Linked DNA regions of Homo sapiens: region 2 is linked to region 1. Evidence: promoter capture Hi-C in human tissues and cell types (Jung and others, 2019). All regions are on one chromosome and are shown on one strand. Each heading gives the region's core, a stretch centred on a gene start or on the middle of the fragment in contact. The rest is flanking DNA. Distances are from core to core; before and after follow the strand shown.

Evidence for each region. The method cuts DNA at HindIII sites, captures the fragments that hold promoters and counts their contacts. A contact is called where the count stands out against the background at its distance.
Region 2: a fragment that was not itself captured here is called in contact with the fragment with the promoter of LGALS2 in region 1 in 1 of the 25 tissues and cell types used here (spleen).

What each region holds. Positions count from the first base shown.
Region 1 is chr22:37,576,317-37,582,443 of GRCh38, forward strand. It overlaps LGALS2 (galectin 2), which reads right to left and starts at 3,771. Exons shown (of 4, transcript NM_006498.3): 1 at 3,584-3,771. The coding sequence starts at 3,589. RefSeq lists a silencer at 4,098-4,157. The HindIII fragment of the contact is 22,309 bases long and covers 1-6,127 here.
Region 2 is chr22:37,321,444-37,327,570 of GRCh38, forward strand. All of the region lies in intron 1 of LOC105373024 (a long non-coding RNA gene), which reads right to left. Among named protein-coding and RNA genes, the nearest start is that of CYTH4, 42 kb to the left of the region's middle. RefSeq lists an enhancer at 5,874-6,127. The HindIII fragment of the contact is 3,069 bases long and covers 1,183-4,251 here.

The DNA of each region.
Region 1 (6,127 bases), core at 2,521-5,020:
TGGCAGGCGCCTGTAGTCCCAGCTACTCGGGAGGCTGAGGCAGGAGAATGGCGTGAACCCGGGAGGCGGTGCTTGCAGTGAGCCAAGATGGCGCCACTGCACTCCAGCCTGGGCGACAGAGCGAGACTCCGTCTCAAAAAAAAAAAAAAAAAAAAAAAAATCAGTCTCTCACTGACAAAGACCATTATCTCTGGGAGATGAGGTTATCCAGTGAGGACAGTCCAAAAGGGGCTCAAACAAGAAACAGAAGACAGGTGTGCCCGCCACACAGACACTCACAGACGTGTGCCCTGCGCACACACACGTCTAACACCAAGCATCAGGAGATGGCTCCCTGCCTCCTGCCAGCAGCCTGTGCCCACACCCCGAGCCCTGCAACAGTCAGGCCAGGATAGGGGAGCTGGGCCTGGACTAAGAGAAGCACCCACACTCCCCTTGCAGCTCCTGGGGGCTGCCTGACTGAAACAGCAAAGCTCAAACCCCAAGGATAGAGGTGGGGGCTGCTGCAGGGCAGAAGCACTCGGAAGTCCAGGGTCAGGGGTGCACTTGGACAAATAGGGATGCTGAGAGCTGCGGGAGGGTGCAGGCCCGGGAGCCTTGTCCCCACCCAACAGAGTCAAAGGCGCAGAGAGAGACAGGCAGAACTGGGTGGGGGTGTGGTCGTCCCTAGAGCTGGGGGGGTGGGGAGTTGGGGGCCCAGACTCTAGTGCCGACTCTGCCCCTAATTGGCAGAGGGGCCTGGGGCCAGCTTAGCCCCTTTCTGGGCCTTGGTTCCCTTATCTGTCGTATAAGGGATTTGGATGATATGGCCTCTGGAGCTGGAGAGAGAGGAAAGAAAAGGCAGAGGTGAGATGACCAGGAAAGAGAAGGTGGGGAGAGTCCGTGGGCCACAGCAGTCCTCCCCGAGAGGCAGAGGGTGATGAGGGCATAGACCCTTCCACGCAGGACCCCTGGCACATTCACATCCTGCATCCCCCCTGCACTTGAATAGCGTCCCCCGAAAATTCATGTCCACCTGGAACCTGTCAATGTGACCTTTTTTTTTTTTTTTGAGATGAAGTCTCACTCTGTCACCTAGGCTGGAGTACAGTGGCTCGATCTCGGCTCACTGCAACCTCTGCCTCCCGGGTTCAACCGATTCTCCTGCCTCAGCCTCCCAAGTAGCTGGGATTACGGGTGCCCACCACAACATCTGTCTAATTTTTTTTTCTTCTTCTTCTTCTTTTTTGTTTTTGTATTTTCAGTACAGACAGGGTTTCACCATGTTGGCCAGGCTGGTCTTGAACTCCTGATCTCAAGTGATCCGCCTGCCTCGGCCTCCCAAAGTGCTGGGATTACAGGGGTGAGCCACCCCGCCCAGCCTCAATGTGACCTATTTAAAAATAGTTCCTTTGCATATGTAATCGAGTTAAGAGGTCATACTGGTTTAGGGTTGGTCCTAAATCCAATACGACCAGTGTTCTCATAAGAGGAGAGAAATATAGACACAGAGACGGAGACACACAGAGGAGTCCACGTGAAGTTGGAGGCAGAGATTGGAGTGATGCAAGCCAAGGAATGCGAGGAGCCACCAGAAGCTGGAAGAGGCAAGAAAGAACCCTCCCCTTGCGCCTTCAGCAGGAGCGTAGCCCTGTAGCACCTTGGTTTCAGGTTTCTAGTCACCAAAACCAAGACAGAACAAACGTCTATCGTGTGAAGCCACCCACAATTTGGTGGTAATTTGTTATTGCAGCCCTAGGCAATGAATACACCATCTAATCCTCAGAAGAGGCAGCCTGTGATCCCCTTCCACAGATGTAAGGAAGACTGGGGCTCAGAGACGGTCAGTGACTTGGCCAAGGCCACACAGTAAAGCTGTGGCAGAGTCTGGTGTAGAATCAACGAATCAGAGACCTCAGTGGGAATCCACTCAACCCCTTGTGATTTGCAGCTTGTGGCCTTGGGCAATTTGCTCTCCAAGACTTGGGTTTTGTGTGTGGGTATATGAGACAAGGTCTCACTCTGTTGCCCAGGCTGGAGTACAGTAGTGCAATTACGGCTCACTGTAGCCTCGACCTCCTGGGCTCAAGTGATCCTCAGCCTCCCAAGGCTGAGGAGTGTGCCGCTACCCCCACTAATTTTTTAAGGCAAAGCGTAGTGGCATGCACCTGTAGCAGAAAAGGTCTCACTATATTGCCCAAGCTGAGATTTTTTTTTATCTCTATAAAGATCAATGGAGGCCAGGCACAGTGGCTCACACCTGTAATCTCAGCACTTCGAGAGGCCAAGGCAGGAGGATCCCTTGAACCCAGGAGTTTGATATCAGCCTGAGCAACATAGTGAGACCTCATCTCTACGAAAAATAAGAAATAAGCTGGGTGGGGTGGCTCACACCTGTAATCCCAGCACTTTGGGAGGCCAAGGTGGGCGGATCACCTGAGGTCAGGAGTTCGAGATCAGCCTGACCAACATGGTGAAACCCTGTCTCTACTTTAAAAATACAAAAATTAGGCCAGGAGCAGTGGCTCACACCTGTAATCCCAGCACTTTGGGAGGCCAAGGCAGGTGGATCACCTGAGATCAGGAGTTCAAGACCAGCCTGACCAACATGGAGAAACCCCATCTCTACTAAAAATACAAAATTAATCGGGTGTGGTGGCCCATGCCTGTAATCCCTGCTACTCAGGAGGCTGAGGCAGGAGAATCGCTTGAACCTGGGAGGTGGAAGTTGTGGTGAGCCGAGATCGTGCCATTGCACTCCAGCCTGGGCAACAGAAACTCCATCTCAACAAAAAAAAAAAAATTAGCCAGGTGTGGTGACACATACCTGTAATCCCAGCTACTTGGGAGGCTGAGACCAGAGAATTGCTTGAACCCAGGCAGCAGAGGTTGCAGTGAGCTGAGATCGGGCCACTGCACTCCAGCCTGGGCAACAGAGCGAGACTCCATCTCAAAAAAAAAAAAAAAAAGAGAAAGAAAAGAAACAAACAAAATTAGCCAGTGTGGTAGTGAGTGCCTGGGGTCCCAGCTACTCAAGAGGCTGAGGTGGGAGGATCATTTAAGCCAAGGAGGTCAAGTCCGTAGTGAGTTATGATTGCCACCACTGCACTCCACCTGGTGACAGAGCAAGATGCTGTATTGTTGTTGTTGTTTTGAGATGGAGTCTCACTCTTGTTGCCCAGGCTGGAGTGCAATGGCACAATCTCGGCTCACCATAACCTCTGCCTCCCAGGTCCAAGTGATTCTCCTGCCTCAGCCTCCCCATTAGCTGGGATTACAGGCATGTGCCACCAGGCCTAGCCAATTTTGTATTTTTTTAGTAGAGACGGGGTTTCTCCATGTTGGTCAGGCTGGTCTCAAACTCCCAACCTCAGATGATCCACCAGCCTCGGCCTCCCAAAGTGCTGGGATTACAAGCAGGAGCCACCACGCCTGGCCCAAGATGCTGTTTTTTAAAAAAAGACCTCTGTCCAACTTCTTTGCTGCACAGATGGGGAAACTGAGGCCCAGAGAGGGACAGCAATGGTTTTCCCTAAAAGCCCCCACCCAGGCAAAGACAAAGATGAACAGAGTGGGGCAGGCAGCAGGGGGCTAGTGTCCTCACCGTCATGGTGACAGCTCCTGGCGGCAGCTCCCAGCGGCTCCTGGAGGCCTGTGCTCAGGGTCTCAACTCGTGGTCAAGCTTATATCCTAGAATATTACACATTAACTCCCTCAAGGTCCTAGGTGAGGACTTTGCCCCTTCTACCTTGTGTCTCCCCGCCTGCATCTCCCAGTACCCAGCACAAACAGGCAGAAGACTCCTCAGCCAGCTCCACCCCACCCAGCCCGGAGCATCCTCCTGGCCTCCCTCCAGCCCAGCCTCCCCCTCCTCAGCGCTCCCAGAGCCCGAGAGGGGAAGCAGCCCCAGCTCTGCCCCCACACAAACCGCAATGCAGCCGCTTGACAGCTCTCCCAGCCTCCCTCACTTAGCCCAGCTTCCTTGCCTGTAAAAAGAGAGATTTGCTTTGCAAAAAAAAAAAAAAGTCTAGGTTTCTAATTTTCTTTTTTTTTTTTTTTTGAGACAGAGTCTCACTCTGTCACCCAGGCTGGAGTGCAGTGGCAACGATCTCCGCTCAATGCAATCTCCTGGGTTCACACCATTCTGCTGCCTCAGCCTCCCGAGTAGCTGGAACTACAGGCACCCGCCACCATGCCCGGCTAATTTTTTGGTATTTTTAGTAGAGACGAGGTTTCACCGTATTAGCCAGGATGGTCTCGATCTCCTGACCTCGTGATCTGCCCACCTTGGCCTCCCAAAGTGCTGGGATTACAGGCGTGAGCCATTGCGCCTGGCCTAAGGTTCTAATTTTCTATGATGTTATGATTCATTGTCAGAGAGCATTATGTTTTCTTCTTCCCTCCCCATATTATTTATCTGATCGGACATGTAGGTTTCAAAACCAATACACGGATTCAAAGAAAAGATTTCAAACTATTTACAACAAATGGTCAAAAGCAGAGGAGAGCTGGGCGCGGTTGCTTAAGCCTGTAATCCCAGCACTTTGGGAGGCCAAGGCAGGCGGATCACCTGAAGTCAGGAGTTTGTGACCAGCCCGGCCAACATGGTGAAACCCCATCTCTACTAAAAATACAAAAATTAGCTGGGCGTGGTCGCACCTGTAGTCACAGCTGCTCAAGAGGCTGAGGCAGGAGAATCGCTTGAACCCGGGAGGTGGAGGTTACAGGGAGCTAAGATCGCGCCACTACACTCCAGCCTGGGCGACAGAGTGAGGCTCCGTCTCAAATAAAAAAATAAAAAATAAATAAAAGTGCAGAAGGAGTGGGAGGGCTGAGTGGGGGACATGGAGGATGAAAATGCTTTGCTCTTGACTTCTGTTACTTATGTAACTGGCATGCTTACTATAGACAATTAGAGATATTAAATAAAAAGAAAAATAATCACTCATAATGCCACCGCCACGAGGGAACTGGCTTACGCTGTTGGCACATTTCCTTCCAGGCGGTTCTCCACAGATTTACATTATAGACACCCCTCTGTCTGTGCAATTGTTTATCTCTCTTCATTTGGGAAACATTAAAGACCACAAATCTATATTTCAGAACCATACTTTAATGCCTGCGAAATAGTCTACCTTTCAACGACTGAATTTATTTAACCAATTTCCTTCTGCTGAACACTCACATTAATTCTACATTTTTGCTATTAAAAATACTGCTGCATTAAATCTATTTGGACATAAACTTTGGCTGCATCGTGACAACTTATGTAGGGCAGATTCCCAGAAGGAGAACTTTTCTAGAGCTCAGGATTTGGCGAGCCAGAGCGTTTTCCATCAGAGTTGGCGGTGGCCACTCCGGGCAGGATGTGGGGAACTGGCCTTGCCGAGGGCCCTCGGTGCCAGGAGTCTGCAGGTGGCTCACTGCCCAGTGCCCACATAGGACACCACCTTCAGTCCCCTGCCAGCCCGGAGTGAGGAGTGACTTCCTCCTTTCACCCACAAGGAAATTAATCCTCTCTCGGCCTTTCTCCCAAAGGCATGGTAAAACCCCAGTGAGATAAGGAATTTTAAAAGGCTTTCTCCCTGGAAACTAATCAACAGAAACTATACCTTTTAAAGGTGGCATTTTTCTGATTATAATAATAATATTATCTCACTATAGGAGGTTCCAGAAAGTACACACAGTAAAAGGAACTTAAAGTTCACTTGTTTTAAAATAATGTTCAAAAGCAGGGGAAAATGACCATGCATATCATTTACGTACTTTGCTGCGTATATATTTTATACCAATGAAAGATTTAAAAAAAGAAAAAAGAATGGCTGGGCATGGTGGCTCACCCCTGTAATCCCAGCACTTTGGGAAGCTGAGGTGGGTGGATCGCTTGAGTCCAGGAGTTCGAGACCAGCCTGGGCCACATAGTGAGACCCTATCTCTACTAAAAATTTTTTTTAATTAGCCAGGCATGGTGGCACATGCCAGTAGTCCCAGCTACTCAGGAGTCTGAGGTAAGAGAATCACTTGAGCCCTGGAGATCCAGGCTGCAGTGAGCCATGATTGTGCCACTGCACTCCAGCCTGGGTGACAGTGACGGACCCTGTCTCAAAGGAAAAAGAAAAAGAACAGAAATTCCAATACTCACATCTGT
Region 2 (6,127 bases), core at 1,467-3,966, 260 kb before region 1:
TAGAGCTGGAGGCCATTATCCTAAGCAAACGAACATAGACAGGAGCAGAAAACCAAATACCGCATGTTCTCACGTATAAGTGGAAGCTAAATAATGAGGACACATGAATACTAGGAGAGGGACAACAGACACTGGGGCCTTCTGGAGGGTGGACAGTGGGAGGACGGAGAGGATTAGAAAAAAATACCTGGTGGGTATTATGCTTATTACCTGGGTGACAAAATTATCCGTATACCAAACTCACATGGCAGTTTATCTATATAACAAACCTGCACATGTATCCCAATCCTAAAAGTTAAAAAAAAACCTAGACCAAGAATTCCTCTACCTGATAATTTTGTAAACATTTCAGAATATTTCCAACACACCTGTTATGTCTCTGCAATGATACTGCAAATGCAGTTTTGTAACCTTAAGCCAATTTTTTTTTTTTTTCTGGAGACAGATTCTCGCTCTGTCCCTGAGGCTAGAGTGCAGTGGCACAATCTCAGCTCACTGCAACCTCCTCCTCCCAGGTTCAAGCGATTCTCCTGCCTCAGCCTCCCGAGTAGCTGGGATTACAGGCATGCACCACCACACCCGGCTAATTTTTGTATTTTTAGTAGAGGCGGGGTTTCACCATGTTGCCCAGGCTGGTCTCGAACTCCTGACCTCAAGTGATCTGCACGCCTCGGCCTTCCCAAAGTACTGAGATTGCAGGTGTGAGGCACCATGCCCGGCCTAACACTTAAGCCTTAAAACTATGAAATCCGGATGTCCACGTGTATACCAGCCAGGACAGGTTAGGTTACACTGTGGCAACAAATATCCCCAAATCTCAGTGGCTTCACACACCACAAGAGGTTATGTCTTGCTCACACCCTATGCCCTGGGATTGCAGGGTAGGGATCGGCATGGAGTCTCTGCTTATCATAGTCACTCAGGGACCTAGGCTGAGGAGGTGCCATCCTGGCATGAATTGCCAGGAGCGCTGTCTGGATGTGACATGCCACTTCCGCTCACATTGCATTGGCCAAAACATGTCACATAGCTACCTCACTGCAAGGCCAGATGAAATACCATCCTACCACCGGCCATGCAACATGGGAGGACAGTAATACTTGGGGTGTGGCACTAGTGCCGATTATAGCTAGGGTGACCAATTGTCCCCATTTTCTCAGGACCAAGGAGTTTTCCAAAATGCCGGCCTTCTTGTGCTAAAATTGGGAAAGTCCTGGGCAACCCAGGAGGACTTGTCTGCTCCTATTGTACCACGTTGTGCGGTCTTTACACACTCACTTTTCAAAACTGCACAGCAGCCATCTTTTAGATGAACCAAGGTTTCTCTCCCCAGTCCCCTATTGCTGGAGACTCAGACTGTTTCCAGTATTCCATGTTTATAAATACATTGTCTTAAATACCTCCATGGATAAAACCATGTCTACTTCTCAGTGGCTTCTCAGAGGTGCCATTGGTGGCCGTTTACAGGCTCACAATACCTGTTATCCATAGGTAATTCAAAAAGGTTGAAACAATACAATTTGCCTTCTGCAGCGAAAGCACGTACCTGCTTTCCTTACCTTCTCCTGGAGCCCAGAGCAGTCATTCTCTAATTGTAGCCTCCAGCTCACCTGGAGAGCTCCTTAAAACAGATTGCTGGTCCCTAGCGCCAGAGTTTCTGATCCACGGGGGCTGGGATGAAGCCTAACCTTTGCGTTTTTGTGTGTGTGGTTTGTTTGTGGGTTTTTTTGTTGTTTGTTTGTTTGTTTGTTTTGATGGAGTCTCGCTCTGTTGCCCAGACTGGAGTGCAGTGGTGCAATCTCGGCTCACTGCAAACTCCAGCTCCCGGGTTCAAGCGATTCTCCTGCCTCAGCCTCCTGAATAGCTGGGATTACAGGCGTGTGCCACCACACCTGGCTAAGTTTGTATTTTTAGTAGAGACCGGGTTTCTCCATATAGGTCAGGCTGGTCTTGAACTCCCGACCTCAGGTCATCCACCTGCCTCAGCCTCCCAAAGTGCTGGGATTACAGGCATGAGCCACCGCGCCCGGCCAGATGCCACCACTTTGCCACCGAACAGGTGACCCTGCTCAGCTACTCACCAGAGGTCTAACCTGGAGCAAATTATGCAATTAGCCTCTCTTAGCCTAGGTTCCTATCTGTGAATTGGAGCAGTTGGGAGGATGGACTACCAGGGTAACCATGAGTTCAGTTAAAAATAGTTACAGTTATTCAGCGGTAAATTAAATAACTTTATGTTTTAAAATATTTGTGAGTTTGAATGGAACTGCATTGATTAACATTTGTATTCCTTTCATATCTGAGTGGGAATGGACTTTCTCCCTGTGAGGGTTAAGCATTTGTGTTTCCTTTCTAGTGTGAATCATCGCTCCTGCCCTTTGCCCATTCACCTGCAGGTTTCTCTGCCTTTCCTCTCCGTCTGCCTGGGATCATTACAGAGCAAAGATAAACCCCCATGGCCGTTCTTGATTGCTAGAGATTTTTCCAAAGCTGTTGCTCACCTGTCTGCTGGGGCCATTTTTCTGGCTTACAAAGTGGCCGAATCCATCTGACTTTCCCATTTTTATTTTCTCTATCACTTTTAAGCTTAGATTGGAGCCCTTCTCCAGAATGTGACAATATAAAGGAAATGGATTTTGAATGATGAGATTTCCTGCACCTTGAGGGGTGGTGGGGGTGGGGGATCCTGGCTCAACTCAAACCCTGTGGTGGTGATAGAAGGCATAGTCAGAAACCAAGAGCCCCTCAGCACCAGGACAACCCACCACCCTCAGCTCTCCTCGACATTAGCCACGCTGTCTCTCTCCCCATTTGCAGAGTCCCCCCGCAGAGAGGCACAGGGCAGGCCAGAGCTGGATGCGCGGCTGGAAGGTCAAAGGCATCATCCTCAGGTTGGAGACAGGATGACCGAAGGTGTAAGAACTGGCCAGAGGAGTTGGACAACTCCCAGCTCAGGTCTCTCCTCGACTGCTTTGGCCGTGTGAGCTTTGCCTCTCTGGGTCTCTGTTGTCTCATCCATAAAATGGGCCTGACCATGCCCAAGTCAACGGAAGGATTTAAATAGATCAGCGCCCTGAGGTCGGTGCTGGACGCCGAGTACACGCGCCCAGTACACAGGGCTTGAGCTCATTACACGCCCCAGTTCTGTTCCTGGGGTGGTGGCGTGAACCCCACTGCCTTTGCCTTTAATTGCACTGAAAATATCCAGCACCGCTGATATCAAGGGCCCAGGTCCCGGCGGAAATGAACTCCCAGACTTGGGCGCCCAGGTTTCCGTGCGCGACCCCAGCCCCTCCGGCTGCAGCTCAGCCCATCGGCCCTGCGCGGGAACAGTGTCACCCGGGCACCCGGGCCAGAACAGGCCACGCGTGTCCCAGGAGCGCGGGAAGCTCCCACGCCCCCTCCCCCGCACCGCTCCTTTGGCTGGCAGAGCGGGTCCTCAGCGCGTCTCAGCCGCACCAAGCGCCTCCCGCTCCCGCGCCACCCGGGCGCGCTGCTGGGGCCTGATTTCCATAATAATCAGCCAGAGATCTCCCGAAAAGGCTGGGAGCGGCCGCCGCCGCCCACCGGGGAAGCTCCCGAGGGTGGGCGCCCCCCTTCCCACCCTCCCTGCCGCCGCCGGGAGGGAGCCTCGTTTTTAAAAGCTTTCGAGAAACCGTCCGTGCGCAGGAGGCAGCTGGGAGACACCCAGGATGTCGTTCTCCGCATTAAGGAGGGGGACGGCGGTGGGGGAGGTGGGAGAGGCCGCGGCGCAGGTGTAGACCAGGCTCAGAGGCAAGGAGGGGAGGAGGGAAACTGAGGCAGCCGCGGGGTGGGGAGACGTTTCAAGGTATATTCTCACTGCAGCCTCACGGCGACCCTGCGGGTGAGTTATCTGCTATGCCCCACTTTACAGGTGGGGAAACTGAGGCCTAGAGAGGTTTCCAGTCTTCCAAGCTGGCAAGTGGCTGGGCGGGGACCCTTTTCCGAGTTGGGGGATTCAGATCCCCTGGCCTGCCCGGCACACTGCCTCCTGCCCAAAATGGGCAGCGTAGAAGCAGGATGCTCTGTGCATCCCAAGATGGGAGAACCAACCCGAAAGGGAAAGACCAGGGGGCTGAGGTCCGGCACACACTTGGAGCTGATCTGGTCCAGAAGCCCGTGGGCTCGCAGAACCTAGTTTGAACCCCAGCTCTGCCACCTCCCAACCATCCCCCAAGGGGTGGGCAAACTACAGCCCCTAGGCCAAATCCTGTCAAACTGTTATGGTACAACCAGAAACCAAGCATGTTTTTTTTTCTTTTTTTTCTCTTTTTCTTTTTCTTTCTTTCTTTTTTTTTTTTTTTTTTTTTTTTTTTTTTTAGATGGAGTTTTCGCTCTTGTTGCCCAGGCTGGAGTGCAGTGGTGCGATCTCGGCTCACTGCAGCCCCTCCCTCCTGGGTTCAAACAAGTTTCCTGCCTCAGCCTCCCAAGCAGCTGGGACTACAGGCACGGGCCACCACACCCGGCTAATTTTTTTGTATTTTCAGTACAGATGGGGTTTCACCATATTGGCCAGGCTGGTCTCAACCTCCTGACCTCAGGTGATCCACCCTCCTCGGCCTCCCAAAGTGCTGGGATTACAGACATGAGCCACTGCACCCGGCTAGGTTTTTTCTATTTCTGAAGATAAAAAAAAAAATTCCTGACATGTGAAAATTATATGAAATTTGAATTTCCATGTTCATCCACTTTTTTAATTAAAATACAGCCACACCCACTTATTTCTGGTACTGTCTATGGCTGCTTTCCCTCTACGGTGGCACCGTTGAATAGTTTTGACCAAGAAGCATGGCTCGTAAAGTCAAAAATATTTACTATGTAGCCTTTTCCAGAAAAGCTTTGCCCATCCCTGCAATAATGGGGCAACGATGAAGCCTCTACGCCTCGGTTTTCTCACCTGGACAGATGGGAATGCCATTAAGTGAGGATGAAGTGAAGGCTGGGAAAGCCCTGAGCACAGTTGGCAGCACCCATCTTAGAAATGCCTTTGACCGGCCCGGTGCAGTGGCTCACGCCTGTAATCCCAGCACTCTGGGAGGCCGAGGCAGACGGATCCCCTGAGATCAGGAATCCAAGACCAGCCTGAGCAACATGGAGAAACCCCATCTCTACTAAAAATACAAAATTAGCCAGGAGTGGTGGCGCATGCCTGTAATCCCAGCTACTCGGGAGGCTGAGGCAGGAGAATCGCTTTAACCCAGGAGGCAGAAGTTGCAGTGAGCTGAGATTGTGTCACTGCACTCCAGCCTGGGTAACAGAGTGAGACTCCGTCTAAAAAAAAAAAAAAAAGAAAGAAAGAAAGAAAAAGAAATGCCTTTGACTTTTGCCAAGCCCCTGCTGCTTGCTGCCTCCCCATCCCGAATCACGGCTACCTGGGTGGATGCACTTTGAACTCAAGATATTCATCCCCTGCCCCCATTCATCCTGCTTGTCCTCACTCCAAGCTTATCAACCTGGCCTCCAGCCACCCTCTCCCGTCAGTGACCCAGCCTGACCGGTTCCACCTCCAGCACCCAGCACAATCCCTGCCCCACACTGGTTCTTAGCAAACATTTTCTTTCTCTTTTTTTGAGACGGAGTTTCACTCTTGTTGCCCAGGCTGGGGTGCAATGGCGCAATCTCAGCTTACTGCAACCTCTGCCTCCTGGATTCAAGCAATTCTCCTACCTCAGCCTCCCAAGTAGCTGGGATTACAGGCATGCGCCACCATGCCCGGCTGATTTTGTATTTTTAGTAAAGATAGGGTTTCACCATGTTGGTCAGCCTGGTCTCGAACTCCTAACCTCAGGTGATCTGCCCACCTCGGCCTCCCAAAGTGCTGGGATTACAGGTATGAGCCACCGCACCCGGCCTCAGCAAACATTTTCTAGATGGATGGATGGATGGGTGGATATTTTGCAGTCTTTCTCCATTCCTTCAACTCTAGCCTCCATCATCTCCTTCCAGGTCTCCCTGCTCCCCCCTTCATTTCATCCCCGACTCTGTAGCCAGGGTCACCTGCCTCCTCCCTGGATCCCCAGTGCAGCACAGGTGCTGAGCCACCCCCCTCCACCAAACACCCAAACTGCTAGCACTTCCCTGAGCCCAGCAGGTTGTATCAAGCCTC